Regions from separate parts of the Homo sapiens genome. Here regions 2, 3, 4, 5, 6 and 7 are each linked to region 1. The links are contacts of gene promoters, found by promoter capture Hi-C in blood cells and fetal thymus (Javierre and others, 2016). All regions are on one chromosome and are shown on one strand. The core of a region is centred on a gene start or on the middle of the fragment in contact, and the rest is flanking DNA. Distances in the headings are between cores, read along the strand shown. Region 1 holds the start of ZNF229 (zinc finger protein 229). Region 2 overlaps ZNF224 (zinc finger protein 224). Region 3 has its middle 23 kb from the start of ZNF227. Region 4 overlaps ZNF234 (zinc finger protein 234). Region 5 overlaps ZNF225 (zinc finger protein 225). Region 6 holds the start of ZNF224 (zinc finger protein 224). Region 7 holds the start of ZNF284 (zinc finger protein 284).

The links. The method cuts DNA at HindIII sites, captures the fragments that hold promoters and counts their contacts. A CHiCAGO score of 5 or more calls a contact.
Region 2: a contact is called between a fragment that was not itself captured here and the fragment with the promoter of ZNF229 in region 1, in 4 of 17 cell types (total B cells, fetal thymus, naive B cells and 1 more). The highest score is 7.0, in total B cells.
Region 3: a contact is called between a fragment that was not itself captured here and the fragment with the promoter of ZNF229 in region 1, in 1 of 17 cell types (M2 macrophages). The highest score is 5.1, in M2 macrophages.
Region 4: a contact is called between a fragment that was not itself captured here and the fragment with the promoter of ZNF229 in region 1, in 3 of 17 cell types (erythroblasts, total B cells and M2 macrophages). The highest score is 7.5, in erythroblasts.
Region 5: a fragment that was not itself captured here is called in contact with the fragment with the promoter of ZNF229 in region 1 in 3 of 17 cell types (naive B cells, neutrophils and total CD8 T cells); the score reaches 5.8 in naive B cells.
Region 6: the fragment with the promoter of ZNF224 here is called in contact with the fragment with the promoter of ZNF229 in region 1 in 11 of 17 cell types (erythroblasts, naive B cells, fetal thymus and 8 more); the score reaches 10.6 in erythroblasts.
Region 7: a contact is called between the fragment with the promoter of ZNF284 here and the fragment with the promoter of ZNF229 in region 1, in 5 of 17 cell types (naive B cells, erythroblasts, fetal thymus and 2 more). The highest score is 6.5, in naive B cells.

What each region holds. Positions count from the first base shown.
Region 1 is chr19:44,447,150-44,449,849 of GRCh38, forward strand. ZNF229 (zinc finger protein 229) reads right to left here and starts at 1,323. Exons shown (of 6, transcript NM_014518.4): 1 at 1,160-1,323; 2 at 364-451. The HindIII fragment of the contact is 11,359 bases long and covers 1-2,700 here.
Region 2 is chr19:44,109,201-44,111,900 of GRCh38, forward strand. It overlaps ZNF224 (zinc finger protein 224), which reads left to right. Exons shown (of 6, transcript NM_001321645.3): 6 at 1-626. All of the region lies in intron 1 of ZNF225-AS1 (ZNF225 and ZNF224 antisense RNA 1), which reads right to left. It also overlaps a transcript of ZNF225 not described here. Among named protein-coding and RNA genes, the nearest start is that of ZNF225-AS1, 2.6 kb to the right of the region's middle. The HindIII fragment of the contact is 181 bases long and covers 1,198-1,378 here.
Region 3 is chr19:44,188,659-44,191,358 of GRCh38, forward strand. It overlaps a transcript of ZNF226 not described here. Among named protein-coding and RNA genes, the nearest start is that of ZNF227, 23 kb to the right of the region's middle. The HindIII fragment of the contact is 4,753 bases long and covers 1-2,700 here.
Region 4 is chr19:44,147,641-44,150,340 of GRCh38, forward strand. It overlaps ZNF234 (zinc finger protein 234), which reads left to right. Exons shown (of 6, transcript NM_006630.3): 4 at 1,131-1,257. Among named protein-coding and RNA genes, the nearest start is that of ZNF234, 7.4 kb to the left of the region's middle. The HindIII fragment of the contact is 1,281 bases long and covers 695-1,975 here.
Region 5 is chr19:44,128,776-44,131,475 of GRCh38, forward strand. ZNF225 (zinc finger protein 225) reads left to right here. Exons shown (of 5, transcript NM_013362.4): 5 at 2,075-2,700. Among named protein-coding and RNA genes, the nearest start is that of ZNF234, 11 kb to the right of the region's middle. The HindIII fragment of the contact is 1,288 bases long and covers 746-2,033 here.
Region 6 is chr19:44,093,064-44,095,763 of GRCh38, forward strand. It overlaps ZNF224 (zinc finger protein 224), which reads left to right and starts at 1,298. Exons shown (of 6, transcript NM_001321645.3): 1 at 1,298-1,467. RefSeq lists an enhancer at 1,108-1,217. The HindIII fragment of the contact is 10,144 bases long and covers 1-2,700 here.
Region 7 is chr19:44,070,834-44,073,533 of GRCh38, forward strand. It overlaps ZNF284 (zinc finger protein 284), which reads left to right and starts at 1,326. Exons shown (of 5, transcript NM_001037813.4): 1 at 1,326-1,458. The HindIII fragment of the contact is 12,821 bases long and covers 1-2,700 here.

The sequences.
Region 1 (2,700 bases), core at 73-2,572:
ATTCAAATATTTATTGGCAAGCCTGGCACTGTCCTAGACACCATGGATAAATAATACCTGGCATATAGTAAGCACTCAGTTAATATACACCATCACAGTTACTCTAATTATTTCTACCCTGCGTTTCTTCAGCATGGCGCTGAAACAGTGTAAGCCTTTACTGACCCAGTGACACACTACTAGGAGCCAAGAAGAGAATACACTAAATAAAGACACTGGGAAATTCCTCAAACCTCCCCCATTTCTAGGGGAAGGCAGGTGTGGCTAAGGGGTCTGAATGAACATTTGTGATATCAATGGGATGAAGAATGAGGTCACCAAGAGACCTGGCATTGCCACAAAAGAGAACCAAAGTTCACTCACCTGGAGCTCTAGTGTCAAGAGATGTGGGGTTATTTCTCCTTCTTTTATACAATTATCTCCGAGAAACGAACAATTCCAAGAAGGAAGCCTGTGAAAGAAAAATGAACAGCAGGATAACATGATTTAATCCCAATTCCCACCACGCCACAGGGGGAAATCTCTCAGTGCCAGCTGGATGTAATCTACCCCTTCCTGTAATCTACCCTCGCTACTTGCTTCAGGAGCCGAGGAAAAGAACCTCTCTTCCTACAGGACTCAGAGTACAAGGGACACGCCATTCCTGATGCCCAAAGAAACCGTCTACAAGCCTACTTTCACTGCCCCTTTCAGGAGACAAGGAGAATCAAGACAAAATCTCAAGATTTTAATCCAGAGCTGACTGTCACATGCTGTGGGACACTTACAAGTGAAATTCTGCCTGTGTGTGCTTAGGCGGCTACAAAAAGCAGAGCCAGCAACGATACAGCAAACCAACTCCTAGGACTTGCACAGCGCTTAATACATTTCAAAGGATAAAATTAGAACACAGGGAATCAACTTCCTGTTTACAGAAATGACTTCGCAGAAAACTCTGAAATTACTCCACAAGTGGGTGGGCGGCTACCCTGAGAAAATTCATGTCATCGATCCGCAACTGACACAGTGGAGTCTCCCGCACTGCAGATCTCATCTCAAAGCCAGAGCTGGCCTCAAACTGCTTTTCCAAGCCTGGACTGCGAGGGCTGCCGACCCGGGCCCACCCCGCACAGGCGCTCAGAATGTTCGATACGTGCGCCTCCTTACACCCCTGCCTCACCAGGCCGAGCTCATGGAAATCCGTGGGCTTCGACCCTCCGCCGCACGTTGTCCCTTCACACTGGTCCTATAGAGCCGATCCTAATTCCCATGGCCTGACAGTACAACCGCATGGAGATGCACGTCTCTAAGACGCCTCACCACTGCCTAAGAAGCAATCAAGGTGACGCGCCCACCGGAAACGGAAGTAGTCGACTCGAGGTGTGGGACTACCTTTCCCAGAACCCTCCGCAGCGCAGTCCGATCCTAGGGGCGATGGTGTCGTAAATGCGCGTCCACCTCGAGTCACGCCCACTGCGAGGCGGCGGGAGGCGGCATGCAAGGTGTTTCTGAGTTGAAAAGAATGTCTTTACTCAGTACTAACATATTCGCGTTGTAGCAAACCTGACTATATTCTCAAACAAGCCCATCATCCCATCACCAGGGATATAAAGCATTATTGATTTTCTGGTGTAAAAGCCAACTAAATATTTATTTCAAAAGTAGTTCATATTACATGTAAAGAATGGTTTAAAAAAAATTCTTACTTAATCCCTGGTTTATGTGAGTAAATATGAATTCTTAAGAATCCCATTTCCCAAATGGCATCATAATATTTTGTAATCATTTCTTGCCACAGGTCATATATCGTGGATAGTTCTGTATGTCACAAAAGACGTAGAGATACATAGAGATAATAAAAAAACACAAATTATTTGCAATACTTGCCTAGCATTCTTTAGTTTTTAGGGAAGTTACCCCTTTGTCCTGCATTGAACTTACACTTCTAATTTTATGATATCAAAACTACACACAATCACTTTCTTTAATATTTTCCCAATTTGATGGACTAAATATCCTGTCTTATTTTCCCAATTTGACAGAGTAAATATGCTTATTACCGATTGCATTTCATTGTCATCTTTTATTGTCATACACTCTCTGTGTATGAATGATATCGCTTCTAAGTGATGAATTGCTCCCCCAGTTTCAACATTTATAAAGTAGTTTAGAAAAAAAAAAAAACAAAAAACTTCATCTGACAAGGTATATCAGTCTTTTCATTTGTGGCTTCTTTTTTTTCTCCAGTATGACCAAAAAGACATTCCTTAGCCTGATTCCCAATAAGTGCATATCTATATTCATTTCAGGCTCTTTCATTTTTCTTTTGAATCACCGCGTGATTCATTTAAGTGTATGATATGAAAGGAAGATGGAGTTTCCTGTTTCACCAAAGGATTGTCTACTTTTCTTAACAAAATTTACATAAATATTAATTCTTTCCTTTCTGATTTAAACGGCATCCTAATCACTTACTACATTACTATATATATAATGAAATATTTTCTGGGATACAAGTGTGTTCTGAAGATAGAGATTGCTTTTTCTGTGCCATGATGAAAGGTTTCAGTTACAGTGATAACTCATTTCCTTATCTCTCCCTCCTTGTTGTGTTTCAAAAATTTCATCCTAGAAGTTCTAGAACTCTCTCTTATAAACAGATTATCGAATTGTTTTGATAAATTCTAAAAAATTGCCAATTGACTCCAAAGCATCCAAGCC
Region 2 (2,700 bases), core at 38-2,537, 340 kb before region 1:
CTTTTAAAGTGCCAGATGTACATTGACAGAAATTTTCTTAGTCAATCCTAGATTGATCATGATTTGTGATTTCTATGCAGGCCTTGGTATGATTGCCTTTTAATTGCTGTACAATTTCTTTTTTTTTTTTAACTTCTCTGGTATAAAATATTCTAAATTTGAATGACAGCTTTTGTCAACCTTCTTATCCAATATTCTTCCACCAACGCTATGAAACAGGAAGAGAAAATGGAGTTTGGTAATTTCATCAAATATATTCATTATTGGGGGCAGGAGTAACATTTAAATCCTCCTCTTTATTGCTGGCAGTAAAAATATGTCTTTTGGAGAGCAGAACATGCCAGAATGTATAAGGTGCAACTGTTTGATATGAAAACCATAGGATAGGAAACTATGCCTATGACACTAAAACTCCAAAAAGTAGAAGACCACATTGATGATGTCACTGCATTTTAAAATGGAAAGAACAAGTGTTCAAGAACAGGAATTTGTGTGAATTGCATTTATTCCTATAATAATATGAACTCAATGAGATGATGACATAGACACAATAACAAAAGGAGAAAAACAATGTGGCTTTTTTTAGCCTTCATAACCTAATCAAATAAATATCTTTGTGTGTTTTATGTTCTTTTGAGTGTTTACATACTGTGTAAATGAATATTTTTACTGATCTTTGCTGGCAATGAGTGTTTGCAGGCATTTTTCCATTTTATACTTCCATGCATTTTTAATTTTTTTATGCCACGATCTTTTAAACAACCAGCTCTTGTGTGAATTAAGAGTGCGAACTCATTCATTACCATGGTGGGGACACCAATGTTTATGAAGGATCTGCTTCCATGACCAAGCACCTTCCAATAGTCCCGACCTCCAACACTGGAGGTCATACTTCAACATGAGATTTGGAGGGGATACATATTCAAACTATTGTCAGATGTTAATTCATCAGGTATACACCATAGTAATATCTTAAGTGTGTTAAGTTAAAGTGATATATTTTCTAAGGTATAGAACAAATAGGGCTTATCACCCCCCTACAAGCAAAGAAAATGTCACAATGCTTAGTGTGCCATTTTTGATATTGGATGCAACTTATTGTTTCGATTGTGCTACTCTGACTTTTATGAGTGACCCAAAAACTTTGACTTGTCCCAGACAAGAGAAGTTTGTGTAATATGTCCCAGCTTCCACGTAAGCTTCTCTGCCACTAAAACCCTGTGACCCCGGGGGTCCAAAAGTGTTTGAAATGTCCGTGGCAGATAGTATGTTTGAAGCCTATGGTTGGCCCTAATTGGAGAATCAAAATTCAGATGCTTAGTATTTTGAAGCAAATTTCTGCCATCCTCTGCATATACTTACTCTCCTCTGGAGAAGAAGCTTTTCATTTTGCTAGGGTGTTTTGTTTTGTTTTGTTTTTGTTTTTGTTTTTTGAGACGAGTCTTGCTCTGTGGCCCAAGCTAGAGTGCAGTGGTGCAATCTTGGCTCACTGCAACCTCTGCCTCCCGGTTTCAAGCGATTCTCCTGCCTCAGCCTCCCGAGTAGCTAGGATTGCAGGTGCCCCGCCACCGCACCCGGCTGATTTTTGTATTTTTAGTAGAGACGGGGTTTCACCATCTTGGCCAGGCTGGCCTCAAACTCCTGACCTCGTGATCCACCCGCCTTGGCCTCCCAAAGTGCTGGGATTACAGGTGTGAGCCACCACGCCCGGCCACTAGGGGTCTTAAAACGGACAGAACACTTGACCACAGACCACCAAATTAACATGTGACTTATGCTTTCCATCATGAATCGGGTGTTGACCCCTGCACCTTTTTAAGTTACATGTGCAGATTAGTATTCCATTTGGAAGTGGTATATATGAGATTGTGTTTGTGCAGGCTCTGAAGCCACAGGTAAGTGCACCTAATATTCATCTCCCTACTCTTGCTGTATTCAGAATGAGTGAATATAAAGAGAAGTCATCTGAAATTATTGTGTCTCAGCAGCAGAAAGAAGTGGAATACACGGTTGGACGCGGTGGCTCACGCCTGTGATCCCAGCATTTTGGGAGGCCGAGGCGGGTGAATCACCTGAGGTCGGGAGTTTGAGACCAGCCTGACCAGCATGGAGAAACCCCCTCTCTACTAAAAATACAAAATTAGCCGGGCGTGGTGGCACATGCTTGTAATCCCAGCTACGCTGGAGGCTGAGGCAGGAGAATCGCTTGAACGCGGGAGGCGAAACTCCCTCTCAAAACAAAAAACAAACAAAAAACAACCAAAACTGAAAGCTGGTAATGAAACAAATACGTATACACGAACATTTGTAGCAACACTGTTCACTACAGCCAAAAGGTGAAAAGAAGCCAAATGTGCGTCAATGTATGAATGGAGAAACAAATTGTAGTATAAACATAAAATATTCATCTATGAAAAGGAATGAAGTACTGATACGTGGTATGATGTGAATAACATTAAAAATATTATGCTAAGCAAAGGGAGTTAGAAACAAAATGTTCCATTCATTTTTATGATTTGTCCAAAATAGGTAATAGAAAAGAGAGAAAGATTCATGTTTCCCCAGGAATGGGATTATGGACAACAGTAGTGATTGCTTAGTGGGCATGGGGTTTTCTTTGGGTGATAAAAATGTTTTGTAATTCAAGAGGTGGTGGTTTCACAATGAAGCAGCTACTTTGTCTGAGGTTTAAACCCGGGG
Region 3 (2,700 bases), core at 178-2,677, 260 kb before region 1:
ACTGTCATTGTTGTATCTTCCTAGTGAGTTGAACTTTTAATCATTATATGATATCCTTCTTTGTCTCTTGTGACAGTTTTTGTCTTAAGTCTATTTTGTCTGATATAAATGTCAATCTAAATAGAAGAGACAGAGTCTCTCTAAAATAAAATTACATTTATTCAGGAATGAGCATTTCAATGGGAATACAGTGGGTATATTCAGGGAGGTAAATGAAGACAAGAGTTTTATAAGGAAAAATGAAAAGGGCCACATAAGTTGTTTTGAAACAATTTTTCTTGACCACAGGGTTCAGTAACAACGGTGGTATCAGTCCAAGGTTGGACAGCCAGTTGCTGGGTAGATGTCTTCATGGAAGTAGTTTTGTTTGTGTAAGGTCATGACATTTGAGCAACAATGGAGGTTTGGAGGGAGTGGCTCTTAGGCTAGGTCTACCTGGAGTCCGTTGTTAAGTTCAATTTTGTTTGTTCTGTAGGTGTGGGCTATTATTTCAAAGCTGTAGGCCAGCATTATTGTGTTAGGAGTTGTACTTCCACAGAAATTTGACAGGCAACAGGTACAAAGTTTAAAAAGAAAGATACGAAGTAAAATTTATACTAATATGATCATCCCAGTTTGCATAATGGTTTCGAGCCATGAACCTGGGCTTAAAGGCAAGCAACTGAATCAATCAAATGATCATTGGGAATTAGGTGAGACCTAATGTAACTATGTGCGTGTTTTCTTATTTTGTGTATTTGGGTCTCAACTTCCCCAGAGGAATTTATCCAGGTATGCATGTAGTCCTAGCAATAGCATAGACACTACCTTATTTAACCAGTAGATAATATAGAAAAATTTTGTCATCTGATATCTCATGACTGGGTTGAATTAAAAGCATAGAGTGAGTGACAGTTGTATTAGGAATATTTTTAAAGTTGGACTAAAGGATTCTTTGGTCATGTAAAGATCTACAGTTGGCATAACAGATCTAACATTTTGTCAAGTTGTCCACATAAGCTACTAATTGTAAAATTTTAACTACACCATTATCCTGCCCAGTGAAAAAGTTAAGCATAGGCAAGGACAAACTAAGAGGGGCAACAGTCTCATTATGATAAAGATTGTTCTGGCATCTTGAGAAAGCTGTCCACAGCATAAAGACATCAACTTCTCATCCTGGTTTGTAGTTTGAATGTCTCTCGTTATAGCATCGGGTGGTTTGGTGAACTTTCTGCATGACCCACAAATCAGGCATGAGGCTTGTCTCTTAAAATTTACATCAAGTTTTCTAGCTTCAGCTTACAGGGCTTTAGGAAAGAGTAGTTCCCATTCTTAGTAATAACATGGGAGAAAATTAGATTAGGGAACCTAGAATAACTTAGGATCCAGTCTGGTCTACAGTAGATAATAAAAACTCAAAGACAATGCACAGAACTACAATCTAATAACAGATGTATTATAGTCCTTTTCTAGAAACATAATTTTGTCTCTATATAGTTATCCTAATTTCTACCAAAGATAATTACAGTAAGACTGATTTGTTTGTAAATAAGTTTAGTTTTATTATTATTTTAGGTTCTTGTATTATTTTATTAGTTTTATTATTTTAGTTTTTTAAAGTTTATTTATTACTTAATAATTTACATAAGAGCAGCAAGAGTAGTAAATTGAGCACAAAAGAATCTCAGATTTTATTTTATTTTATTTTTTTGAGGCGGAGTCTCGCTGTGTCGCCCAGGCTGGAGTACAGTGGCGCGATCTCGGCTCACTGCAAGCTCCGCCTCCCGGGTTCCTGCCATTCTCCTACCTCAGCCTCCCGAGTAGCTGGGACTACAGGCGCCCGCCACCACGCCTGGCTAATTTTCTTTGTATTTTTAGTAGAGATGGGGTTTCACCATGTTGGCCAGGATGGTCTTGATCTCCTGACCTCTTGATCCGCCCGCCTCGGCCTCCCAAAGTGCTGGGATTACAGGTGTGAGCCACCGTGCCTGGCCAAGAATCTCAGATTTTAAACCTCCTTGAGTCTAGAAAGCCAAACAAAGGCAGACTTCAGACTTTGTTTGCAGTACCAATAAAAATTTAAATATGGCATTCCAGTTTTAATTGGTAATACAACCAATGTTTTTAACTGTATCATGTTACAAGGAGGTACAGATTCATACTGAATGTATGCAAATAATTATATTGTCATTTAAGAAACACTAGCAAATCACTTCCAAATTTTGAAGGGATCAAATAGAAAAAAATAAATATTTCCACCTTTGTTCACAGAAGTATATTTTACCAAATTGTTGTAAACTATAGATAGCTTAAGAGAAAATGTTTCCTTAAACTTGGAAGACAAAACATTTCAGTAAAAAACCAACAATGTTTAAATTAAAAGTTATAAAAACATTATCAGTTATTCAATTTCATGTAATTAGTTTTTGTTATGCTTGATCTTGATTAGCAGTTTCACAAATTCATCAGTTTCTTCACTGCAGTTGTGAAAAGTTTTATTTAGTTCATTAATCTTGAAGTTATTAGAAACTTGTATTTAAGAGTACTTATTAGAGTCTTTTCCATGAATCTGATTGCAGATACCTTTAGAGAAAAATCAAAACTATGGATGTCAAAGACTTAGAATAACCATCATTAAAAATCTGATGGGAGTTCAGCAGTTGAGAAGGAAATTCAATTATTTCTATTGTATTTAGCATTTTAAGGTAACAACCAGAA
Region 4 (2,700 bases), core at 85-2,584, 300 kb before region 1:
TCAGGAGTTCGTGACCAGCCTGACCAACATGGTGAAATCCCATCTTTACTAAAAATACAAAATTAGCTGAGCATGGTGGCGCATGCCTATAATCCCAGCTACTCGGGAGGCTGAGGCAGGAGAATAATTTGAACCCAGGAGGCAGAGGTTGCAGTGAGCCAAGATTGTGCCATTGCACTCCAGCCTGGGCAACAAGAGTGAAGCTCTGTCTCAAAAAAAAGAAAAAAAAAAGGAAAGAAAGTAAGATCTACATGAAATGATGTTCTTTGCTGGATTGGTTATAATGAAAACAATATTGAAAATTAAATATTCATTAATTAGAACAGGTAGATGCAGATTTCAGTTCCCTCGAATAATATACAGTCATGAAATGAGGTGAAATAGATGATGATGGTAATAATAATAGATAATAGCTAATGTTTCTTAGGTACTTAGTCTGCGCCATACACTATTCCAAATGCTATATGTAGTTTCTTTTTCAACGTTTGAAAGAACTCTGTCATGTAAGAACTATCATACCAAGATGAAACTAGGTGAACTTATCCAAGATCACACAACTTTGAAGGGTACCCTTGTGTGCACTGAGGCATGATGGCTCCAGATCATGACACTAAATGCTGCAGGTAATGCTGGTGCTGTGTGCCCTGGGTGTACAGAAGGAAAACTACATAGCAGTTTTAGATATGTTACCAAAAGCTTGTTAGTTTGGCAGACTTTAATGAAAAGGGATAGCATCCAGCGTTCCTATGTGAGAGAGGAGGAAGGTGGGTGTTATCATGTATGTTGGTTCTGACTTGCTAAATGTTTCTGGGGCAATTGGTAATATTTACCGAAAGGTGAAACCCGTGTGGCTCAGGATGCGTCATTTAGAGTTCTAGATGGTTACTTACAAATAGACTCAGTGAAGCCACAAAGGAATTGAAGGCTATTGTTACTGATGTACTTTTACTGACACTAAGGAAAATCAAAGTGTGGCATTGGTAAGATGGAAGGAGAAGGGCTGAGAAATCTACACATTAAGTCTCTGAAAATCTGGACCAGCTCCCCCTACATACTCTCCACTTTCTCAGTGCTGTTTCTTTTCAAGAGTTTGTTAAAAAGGCTGAAGTAAGGTGTGTTTGATGTTATAGGAGGGACTGACCTTCAAGGATGTGGCTGTGGTCTTCACTGAGGAGGAGCTGGGGCTGCTGGACCCTGTCCAGAGGAATCTGTACCAAGATGTGATGCTGGAGAACTTCAGGAACCTGCTGTCAGTGGGTGAGGACATGAGCTTTCTAACACTCAATGTCAGTCTCTTGGAGTGATTTTGTGTCTTCAGGGGTTCAACACTTTGGAGGTCTTGAATTAGTCGCCTACATTTGTAGACCTGACTTTCCTATCAGTAGTTTTTAGTGAAATAAAATGAGATAGAAATATCAGAGTTCACTAAAATTAATGGAATACATAGCAAATAAAACTGGTAAATTGCATGAGTGGTGTGAGAACTTGTGGGAGGAGATTTAATGAAAATAAACGGGGGCCAGGCACAGTGGCTCACGCCTGCAATCCCAGCACCTTGGGAGGCTGAGGCAGGTGGATCACCTGAGGTCGGGAGTTCGAGACCAGCCTGGCCAACATGATGAAACTCTATCTCTACCAAAAAATAAAAAATACAAAAATTAACCAGGTGTGGTGGTGCATGCCTCTTATCCCACCTACTTGGGAGGCTGAGGCATGAGAATCGCTTGAATCCAGGAGGCAGAGGTTGTAGTGAGCCTAGATCACGCCACTGCACTCCAGCCTGGGTGACAGAGTGAGACTGTCTCAAAAAAAAAAGACATTGGTTAGAAATGTAATTTTAGTAATGCACCAAGATGTAACAGTTTTTCTGTTGTTTGAGATAACACCTGGAGTTTTTTGTTTTATTTTTAAGAAGATTAATGAGTGCAGACAGAAATGTGAGGTTAGAGTGAAGGTTTAATAAGCAAAAGAAGAAAGCTTTTTGCCAGCAGAGAGGGGGACCCAAATGGAATTCCCCCTATGAGGCAGGGGTTTGGGGTTTTTATGGACTGGGAAGGGGAAGGAATGTGCTTAGTTTGTGGGCTATTTTGGAGAAAGTGTGACTTAGCTTGGCCCGGAACCTTGGCCCAGGACCAATCAGGTTGAAGTAAAGATATATAGAGACCGGACTTACAGTTTGAAAAAAAGAAAGTAGAGTGCCCACTGGAACCCACTGGAGCCCACTGTACCTATGCCCACAAAAGGAGAAGAAACCTTTTCCTGGGAGCCCGCTGACTATACAGAGGACAAAGGCATTCTTATGCCAGGCCTTGCTCCTTTATCTGAGCGAGCTGGAGGTATGTACAAGCTTTTATCCAAATGGGCTGGAGGTTTTTCTATCTGTGCAGCCGTGGGCATGTCTCCAGGCACAACACCCTGTGGTAGTTCCCTTATTGGTGCCTGCAGCTTAAATTTTTTTTCCAGGCTGCTTTTTATGTTATATAAAAATAAGACACTAACCCATGGGTCAGGGGCTCTCCAAAGACCCTTCCCTTGCTGTCTACCTAAGGCAAGCGAACTAACTCCTTTCAGAAATAGGTTTTTATAGCACATATTTATGTCTATGTGTCTGGATCTTGAAATACTGATATTTCTTCATTAGGTTCTTCTAAAAGTGTTTGAAAACACTACTTTTGATTGATTGATCAGTATACAGTAGTA
Region 5 (2,700 bases), core at 140-2,639, 320 kb before region 1:
TGGTTCTTTTTCCTAAATGCTTTTTAGAAGGTTTCAGATTTATTTTACAGCTCACTAAGAGTCTGTAGTGTTTATTTTGAAAATGGGTATAAAGGTCTGTTTCTTTACATCATATTTTTTCTGCTATCTGTTTTCAATGAGACAGTCCAATAACTTCACATGGAACCAATCAGGGCATGACCCCTTAGGCGTTCTTTTCATCCCAGGTGATCTTACCAACTTTCATTGTCTCATCAGGATCATCCCCCTTTGTGTATTTCTGTCAGGTCCAGCCTTTCAGATTCCCATCAAAACTGAAGGTTTCTGATCCTTTTCTATTTCAGGTAACCAAGTTATTGTTCATATCAGTACAGACAAATGAGATTATACATGTTCTGCAAAAATTCTTGTACAGGAATACTCTGAAAATGTAGACATAAATACTCCTAGGTATTTGATATTTAGTATTGTGAAGAGCTTAACCAATTGCAAAGTTTAAAGTGACAGCTCACAGAAGACTGCTGTCACTGCATACCAATGACAAATTCAGTGGTTTCCCCAAATTATTTTCATGTTCCATATTCTTAAAATTATGGGTTTTTATAGGGGAAAGATGCATATTACAATTAGGAGAAAAATCAAGTAAGACAGAGTCCAGGGAAGTATCAAATGAGAACTTTTTATTGTACTCTCCCCATGAAATCAGGATGCATTACATCCCCAAGATTAAGGTGTGACATTAGACGGGAGGAGAGCCTATCAGGGAAGCTTTCCTGAGCCCTGGTATTCAGAGTAATCGTTGTCTGTTAATTACATAGCCATTATTGGTTGATTTCTTTCCCGTATGAGTAGTCTCAGTCTCCTGGTTGACTGATTCCACATGACCTAAAGCCTCACCATAAATCACATTGTTGGTCTTTCTCACATAGTGAGCACCACATTCTCCTCATAGGTGTGGCCACCCATAATCCTAAATCGTAGAATTACACCGTCCAGAGTGACTTACTAGACCTACTACCTCCAGGCAAACAAAGACACTCTCCTAGGGCATGACATTTTAAGGACTGAGAGATTGCCTCTCAGATGCTGAGGACATCACCCAGGCCTCTTTGTGACTTAGGATAATTTCTTTACTTCATAAGGATATACAATACAAACTAAAATATACAAAGTTTTGACGATGTTATGGCTTCTCCTTAAAGTTCACATTTGATTCATATTTCACTGTTTACATAATTTATTAGTTACATAATTTACCATGCAAGGTTTTATTTCTACCAAGTATTTCACATATGACACGTGGTGTGGTTCTGAATTGGTCTCATGCAAACCAGAGTCCATAGTGTACCTGGAAAACACATTGGCTGGGCACAGTGGCTCAAGCCTGTAATCCCAGCACTTTGGGAGGCCAAAATGGGAGTATCACTTGTGGCCAGGAGTTCAAGACCAGCCTTGGCAACATAGCAAGACCTTGTCTCTACAAAAAGTGTAAAAATTAGCTAGTTATGGTGGTATGTGCCTGTAGTCCTAGCTACTCAGGAGGCAGAGGTGGGAGGATCACTTGAGCCCAGGAGGTCAAGGCTGCAGCGAGCCATGATTGTGTCCCTGCACTCCAGCCTGGGTGACAGAGGGAGACACTCTCTTTAAAAAAGGAAAATACAGGGCTGGGCGCAGTGGCTTACACCTGTAATCCCAGCACTTTGGGAGGCTGAGGAGGGCGGATCACGAGGTCAGGAGATCGAGACCATCCTGGCTAACACAGTGAAAACCCATCTGTACTAAGAATACAAAAAATTAGCTGGGCGTGGTGGCGGGCGCCTATAGTCCCAGCTACTGAGGAGGCTGAGGCGGGAGAATGGTGTGAACAACCCAGGAGGTGGAGCTTGCAGTGAGCGGAGATCACGCCACTGCACTCCAGCCTGGGGGACAGAGCGAGACTCCATCTCAAAAAAAAAAAAAAAAAAAAAAAAGGAAAATACAATCTGAACATTCCCTATATTTATTAAAATTTCAGGCTATGTCCTAAGTATGAAATCTTGATAACACTGAATAAAAGCTTTACTTGCCCACATCTCTTAATTCTGTGTCATTATAGGAGGCAAGATCCAAATGGAGATGGAGACTGTTTCAGAATCAGGAACACATGAAGGCTTGTTCAGTCATCAAACCTGGGAACAAATTTCAAGTGACTTAACCAGGTTTCAAGACTCCATGGTAAACAGCTTTCAGTTCTCCAAACAAGATGATATGCCCTGCCAGGTTGATGCAGGACTATCTATAATTCACGTAAGACAGAAACCTTCTGAGGGTAGGACGTGTAAAAAGTCCTTTAGTGATGTCTCCGTCCTTGATCTTCATCAACAACTACAGTCAAGAGAGAAGTCTCATACATGTGATGAATGTGGAAAGAGTTTCTGTTATAGCTCAGCTCTTCGTATTCATCAGAGAGTTCACATGGGGGAGAAACTCTATAATTGTGATGTGTGTGGTAAGGAATTCAATCAGAGCTCACATCTGCAAATTCATCAGAGAATCCACACTGGAGAGAAACCATTCAAATGTGAGCAGTGTGGGAAAGGCTTTAGTCGTAGATCAGGACTTTATGTTCATCGTAAATTACACACAGGAGTGAAACCTCATATTTGTGAGAAATGTGGGAAGGCCTTCATTCATGATTCCCAGCTTCAGGAACATCAAAGAATCCATACTGGGGAGAAGCCA
Region 6 (2,700 bases), core at 48-2,547, 350 kb before region 1:
ATATTATGAAGTACTGGTACATGCTGTGATGTGGATGAACTTTAAAAGCAGTATGCTGGCAGGGCGCGGTGGCTCACGCCTGTAATCCCAGCACTTTGGGAGGCCGAGGCGGGAGGATCACGAGGTCAAGAGATCGAGACCATCCTGGCTAACACGGTGAAACCCCGTCTCTACTAAAAATACAGAAAAATTAGCCAGGCGTGGTGGCACGCGCCTGTAGTCCCAGCTACTCGGGAGGCTGAGACAGGAGAATCGCTTGAACCCGGGAGGCGGAGGTTGCAGTGAGCTAAGATCGTGCCACTGCACTCCAGCCTGGCACTTTTTTTGAGATTCCGTCTCAAAAAAAAAAAAAAGAAGCAGGATGCTAAGTGAAAGGTGTCAGAAACAAAAGGTTCCATAATGTATAATTCCATTTATATGAAATGTCCACAATAGGTAATTCAATAGGACAGAGATTAGTGTTAGACAGTGACTGCTTAGTGGGTATGGGGTTTTTGGGGTGATGAAAATGTTTCCTAACTTTTTATTTGTACTACATATATCCTAAAATGGTGAATTTCACGTTTTGTGCATTACACCTCAATAGAGATGTTTTAAATAATAAAATACATTAAAATGTTTTGCATAGATAAAACAATAAAAAAAAACGTTTTTGTTGAGAAAATATTTGCGAGATAAAATGTTAATATCATGAATATAAGAACAGTGCTTGAAAAGTGAGGGATAAAACCAAAAACTCAATAAGAAAGTGGGCAAAACATCTGGACAATTTACAAAAAATGTAATAATGACACCTGAAAATATGCAAGAATATGCCATCTTTACAAGAGTTATAAATTAAAACTACATGCCATTTCTTACCACTGGCAAAACTTATTTGAAGAGTGTATCATCTCGCTTGTTCCCTTTCCAGTAACACTCCTGTCCTCACTAGAGGGGTTTAGACTTCAGGAATTCCTTTCTATACGGTATTTTCTCTTAGGCACCCAGGGAGAGGGAAGGACGACTCTCAGGGTAGAAGTCCACATTTCCCAACAGGCGCTCGGGGGTACGAGATTCGTTCCCCGTGGGAAGAGTGGTCAAGGGCTTCCCAGTAGTCGTCAACACTTCCCTTTGAGTGTAATGCTGCAGGAGTACAGTCCAGACCCTCAGTGGAATCGCGGTCGGTTTAGCTCCGGCAGTTGGGTCCCAGGGAATTCTGGGAAGTGTAGTCCAGACGCTCAGTGGAGTCGCGGTCAGTTTGGCTCCGGCTGGCGGGTCCCGGGGAATTCTGGGAAGTGGAGTCCAAACATTCGGTGGAGTCGCGGACACTTCCGCTCGGGGACTGAGGTTGCTGCAGTTTTTCCGCGATAGTTTGGGGCAGTTCCGCGCGTTGCAGGCCCTTCTGAATTTCCTGGACCTACGCATTGGATCCTCAAAGAACTGGTGATCGAATTAGGGGAAAAGGGGCCTCGTCGGAGAGTAGAGGTTTGGAGGGGCAAGGGCCGCTGTTTGCGTTCTCGTCCGTGGCACCTTCTTGGGCTTGGGTCTGTCCTCGCTTCCCGGGGGCATTGGTACTTGGTTGGGTCGCGTCTCACCTGGTTTCAGGGTTTCCGGGGCTCTGAGCTCGCCCACTCCGCCCCCTGCACCCCACGCGCGTGGCCACTTCTTCTCGATATAACGTTGGGGTGTTAATCTCCTTGGGTTTCCCGTTACTGTTCTTTAAAATGGGGACTTTAGGGCCATCCTAATGGAATCGTTTTGGGAACTGGAAGAGGTAACACAAATGAGAGCCTTAAAGCAGTCCCTGTCACTTGGTGACTGGTGGTCTCTTGTTAATTTCCCACGAAGGACCGGGTGGGGTCAGAGCTCCAGCTGCAGGGGCCTCGGCCCTTCTCCCTGATCCCTGCAGGACGCTGGATGATCCCGGAAGCCTTCTGACCTCTTTTTAGGAGAGCGAGGGTTGCGTCCACTTTCATGAAGGGAAAGGAGCATTTAACTTTTATGGGGGACGGCGACGCGGTCAAGGTGTTTCACAGCTTTCTCGTTCCCCAACCCGACCTTTCCAGAAGAGCTGCAGGGAGGGACTTCTTGGCTTCTGAGGGCAAAGCTCTACGTGAGTGGTCCTTGGCTCTTTGACCGAGATGCTCACCCCAACCGAGAGTGTATAGGTTGTGTCCTCGGGCATGGGGGTCGATAATAATTAAGTCTTAATTAGTAACTTCATTCTAAGGGCTTTATACAAATAAATTTACGCCACACCGTGGCTCTGTGGAGAAGTATTGCTTTTTTCTATTTTAAAAACGAAAGTGAGACACAGAGCGCATAGGCACCCGACTAGTGAGAGGTGGAGCTGGGGTTGGAACCTAAGCAGTCTGGGTCAGAGCCTGATTTGATCTTCTCTTGGGATACGTTGTCACTGAGGCAGAGGAACTAGTTGGACTTAGGTGGGGAAAGCAAGACTTAGGGGCTTGAAATTTTCTGAGTTTCTAAAAATGTTGTCAACTATTTTGTTTCAATCATTACAAATATTTTGTATTCTTATAGAACCATGTCATTGTACAGCATTCTATTTTTCTTTATTAAGAACAAAATGGGCCTGGCGCGGTGGCTTACGCCTGTAATCCCAGCACTTTGGGAGGTCCAGGCGGGCGGATCACGAGGTCAGGAGTTCGAGACCAGCCTGGCCAACATGGTGAAACCGCATCTCTACTAAAAAAT
Region 7 (2,700 bases), core at 76-2,575, 380 kb before region 1:
AATGGGAGGCAGGTTTGCCCTAAGCGATTTCCAGCTTGAGATTTCCTTAGTGATTTTGGGGGCCCAAGATATTTTCCTTTCACAATACTAAGCAGTTTAATTTCTCTTAAATGTGGCATTTCCACGTCTAAAGAATATTAATATGAAAACTTTAAAAGTGGGAAGATAGCTTTTCCAGGAGGGCAATTGGCCCTCCATATTGGCCCTTGACAGGGCAGGAGCATCGCCATCTTGGACAAACACTGCCATTTTAAAGTTCGCGTTGATCAAAAACTGCCTAAATCCAAAGGGCATCAGCCTAATGGCTAAGGTCAGCATGACCATAAACCACAAATGACATCTCCAATCAGAAACATTCCAACCATAAGATAAACCCCTCCCTGACCAGAGACATGCCAGCACCGAGATAACCTCCCTTCCATTGGAGAGATGTCAGTCCCAAGATAACTTCCCCTCCAACCAGAGATATTCCAACCCCACAACAGACTTCTCCCCAATACAGAAACATTCTAAGCCTGTGGTAAGCTCTCTCTCCCTAAAGCCAATACATACTCTTAGTCCGTAAGAGAGAGCGCTCCTGACTGCAATCGGCCAGAAGGCCCTCTCGGTTTATTCTCCAAAACGAACCTGTCTTTGACTGTTGAGCCGCTTTTCGTGTTTTTTTTTTTTTTCTCTTTAACTCTTACAGCCCTCTTAAACACTTAAACTGTGGTTGTTTTTCTTGCCAAACCAGTGGTACAACAGTGTCTGGTTGTACCAGGGGCTGGTGCCCCACTCAATGCCTCTCCCAAACCATTTTTCCTGGCCCATTATTTAAGCTCTTAGATTTAGCCTCATACTATTAGCGTCTAGTATATTAGCCTTTCAGCCATCTCCTGACCGCTCCACAGTCACTCCCCGCTAACTCCTTGAAGATTGTATCTCCTTGCTTTGTTCTCTTTCAGTAACACTCCTGTCATCATGGGAGGCGTGTAGACTTCAGGAATTCCTGTCTATTCAATATTTTCTCTCGAGGACGCAGGGAGAGGGAAGGACCACTCTCAGGGCCACAGTCCATATTCCAAACCAGGCGCTTGGGTCTATGGGATTCATTCCTCGTGGGCATTGCAGGAAGTGTAGTCAAAGAGCACCGCGGAGTCCCACGCTTCCCGCCGGAAGGTGATACTATAGAACGTCTCCTTTGAGATTCAAGGAAGTGTAGCGCAGGAGATCTGTTGAATGACGAGCAAGTAGGCTCAGGACGGCGTATCCGGGGAATTCTGGGAAATGTAGTTCACACGCTGCGCGGGGTAGGGGCACTTCCGCTCCCGGGGGGCGAGGTTGCTGCAGTGCATTCGGTGGTAGTTTGGTGTCAGTCCTGTGTCTTGTCGGTCCTTCTAAACGTGTCCCCTTACGATGCTGGCTCGCAACCACCTGGAAGTTGACTAAGGGGAGAAGGAGTCTCGTTGGAAAACGGAGGTTTGGAGGGACAACGGCCTCTCTTTTCGTTCTTGTCAGCGGAGCCTTCTTGGTCTTGGGGCTGTCCTCGCGTCCCCGGGCATGAGGCTGGGGGTTGGGACTTGGTCGGGACGCGTCTCGCCTGGTTTGAGGGTTTTTGGGGCTCTCAGCTCGCTCAGTCCGCCTCCCTCCATCCCACCTGTGAGGCTACTTTCTCACAATTTAGGGTTGGGATGTTATTAATCTCCCTGTACCTCCCACTGCTGTTCTTTAAAATGGGGACTTTAGGACCATCCTAATGAAATCGTTTTGGGAACTGGAAGAGGTAACACAAATGAAAGCCTTAAAGCAGCCCCTCCCTTAGTGACTGGTGGTCTCTTCTTAGTGTTTATTTCCCACGAAGCCTGTCAGGTCCCCGGGTGGGGTCAGAGCTCCATCTGCAGGGATCCCCGCCCTTGTCTCTGATTCCTGCAGGACGCTGGGTGATCCCGGACGCTTCTGACCTCTTTTTAGGAAGGCGAGGGTTGTTTCCATTTCCACGAAGGGAGAGGAACATTTAACTTTTATGCCGGACGGCAATGCGGTCAGGGTGTTTCACAGCTTTCTCCTTCCCCAGCCTGATTCTCAAAAAGAGCTGCAGGGAGGGACTTCTTGGCTACTGAGGGCAAAGTTCCACGAGAGTGGTCCTTGGCTTTTTTTCTTTTACAGAGATGCTCACCCCGACCAAGAGTGTAGGATGTGTCCTCAGGCATGGGTGTTGATAATAATTAAGCCTCAATTGGTAACTTTATCCCAAGAGCTTTATACAAGTAGTCACATTTTCGCCACACCGTGGCTCTGTGGAGAGGTACTACTTTTTTCAGTTTTAAAGATGAGTGAGATACAAAGGAGCAGGAGTTATCTGAGAATAGTCACCTAAGCAGTAAGAGGTGGAGCTGCGGTTGAAACCTGGGCGTTACAGGTCAGAGCCTTAGTTGATAATCTTTTGGATACATTCTCATTGAGGCAGAGGAACTAGCTGGAATCTAGTGGGGAAAGCAAGCTAGGACTTGATTGAAGGGAGCCTTGAGAGCAAGGCTTATGGGCTTGGACTGTTCTGGGAGTTTATCAACTATTTCATTCATTAGAACTATTTCATTTATTACAAATATTTCACTTGTTATGCAGCGGTATGATTGTGGAGCGTTCAGAAATTGGAGAAATACGAGTAGTACAAGTTTATAATTACCCATGAATCCAGCATGTAAAGATAGTAACTGTTAA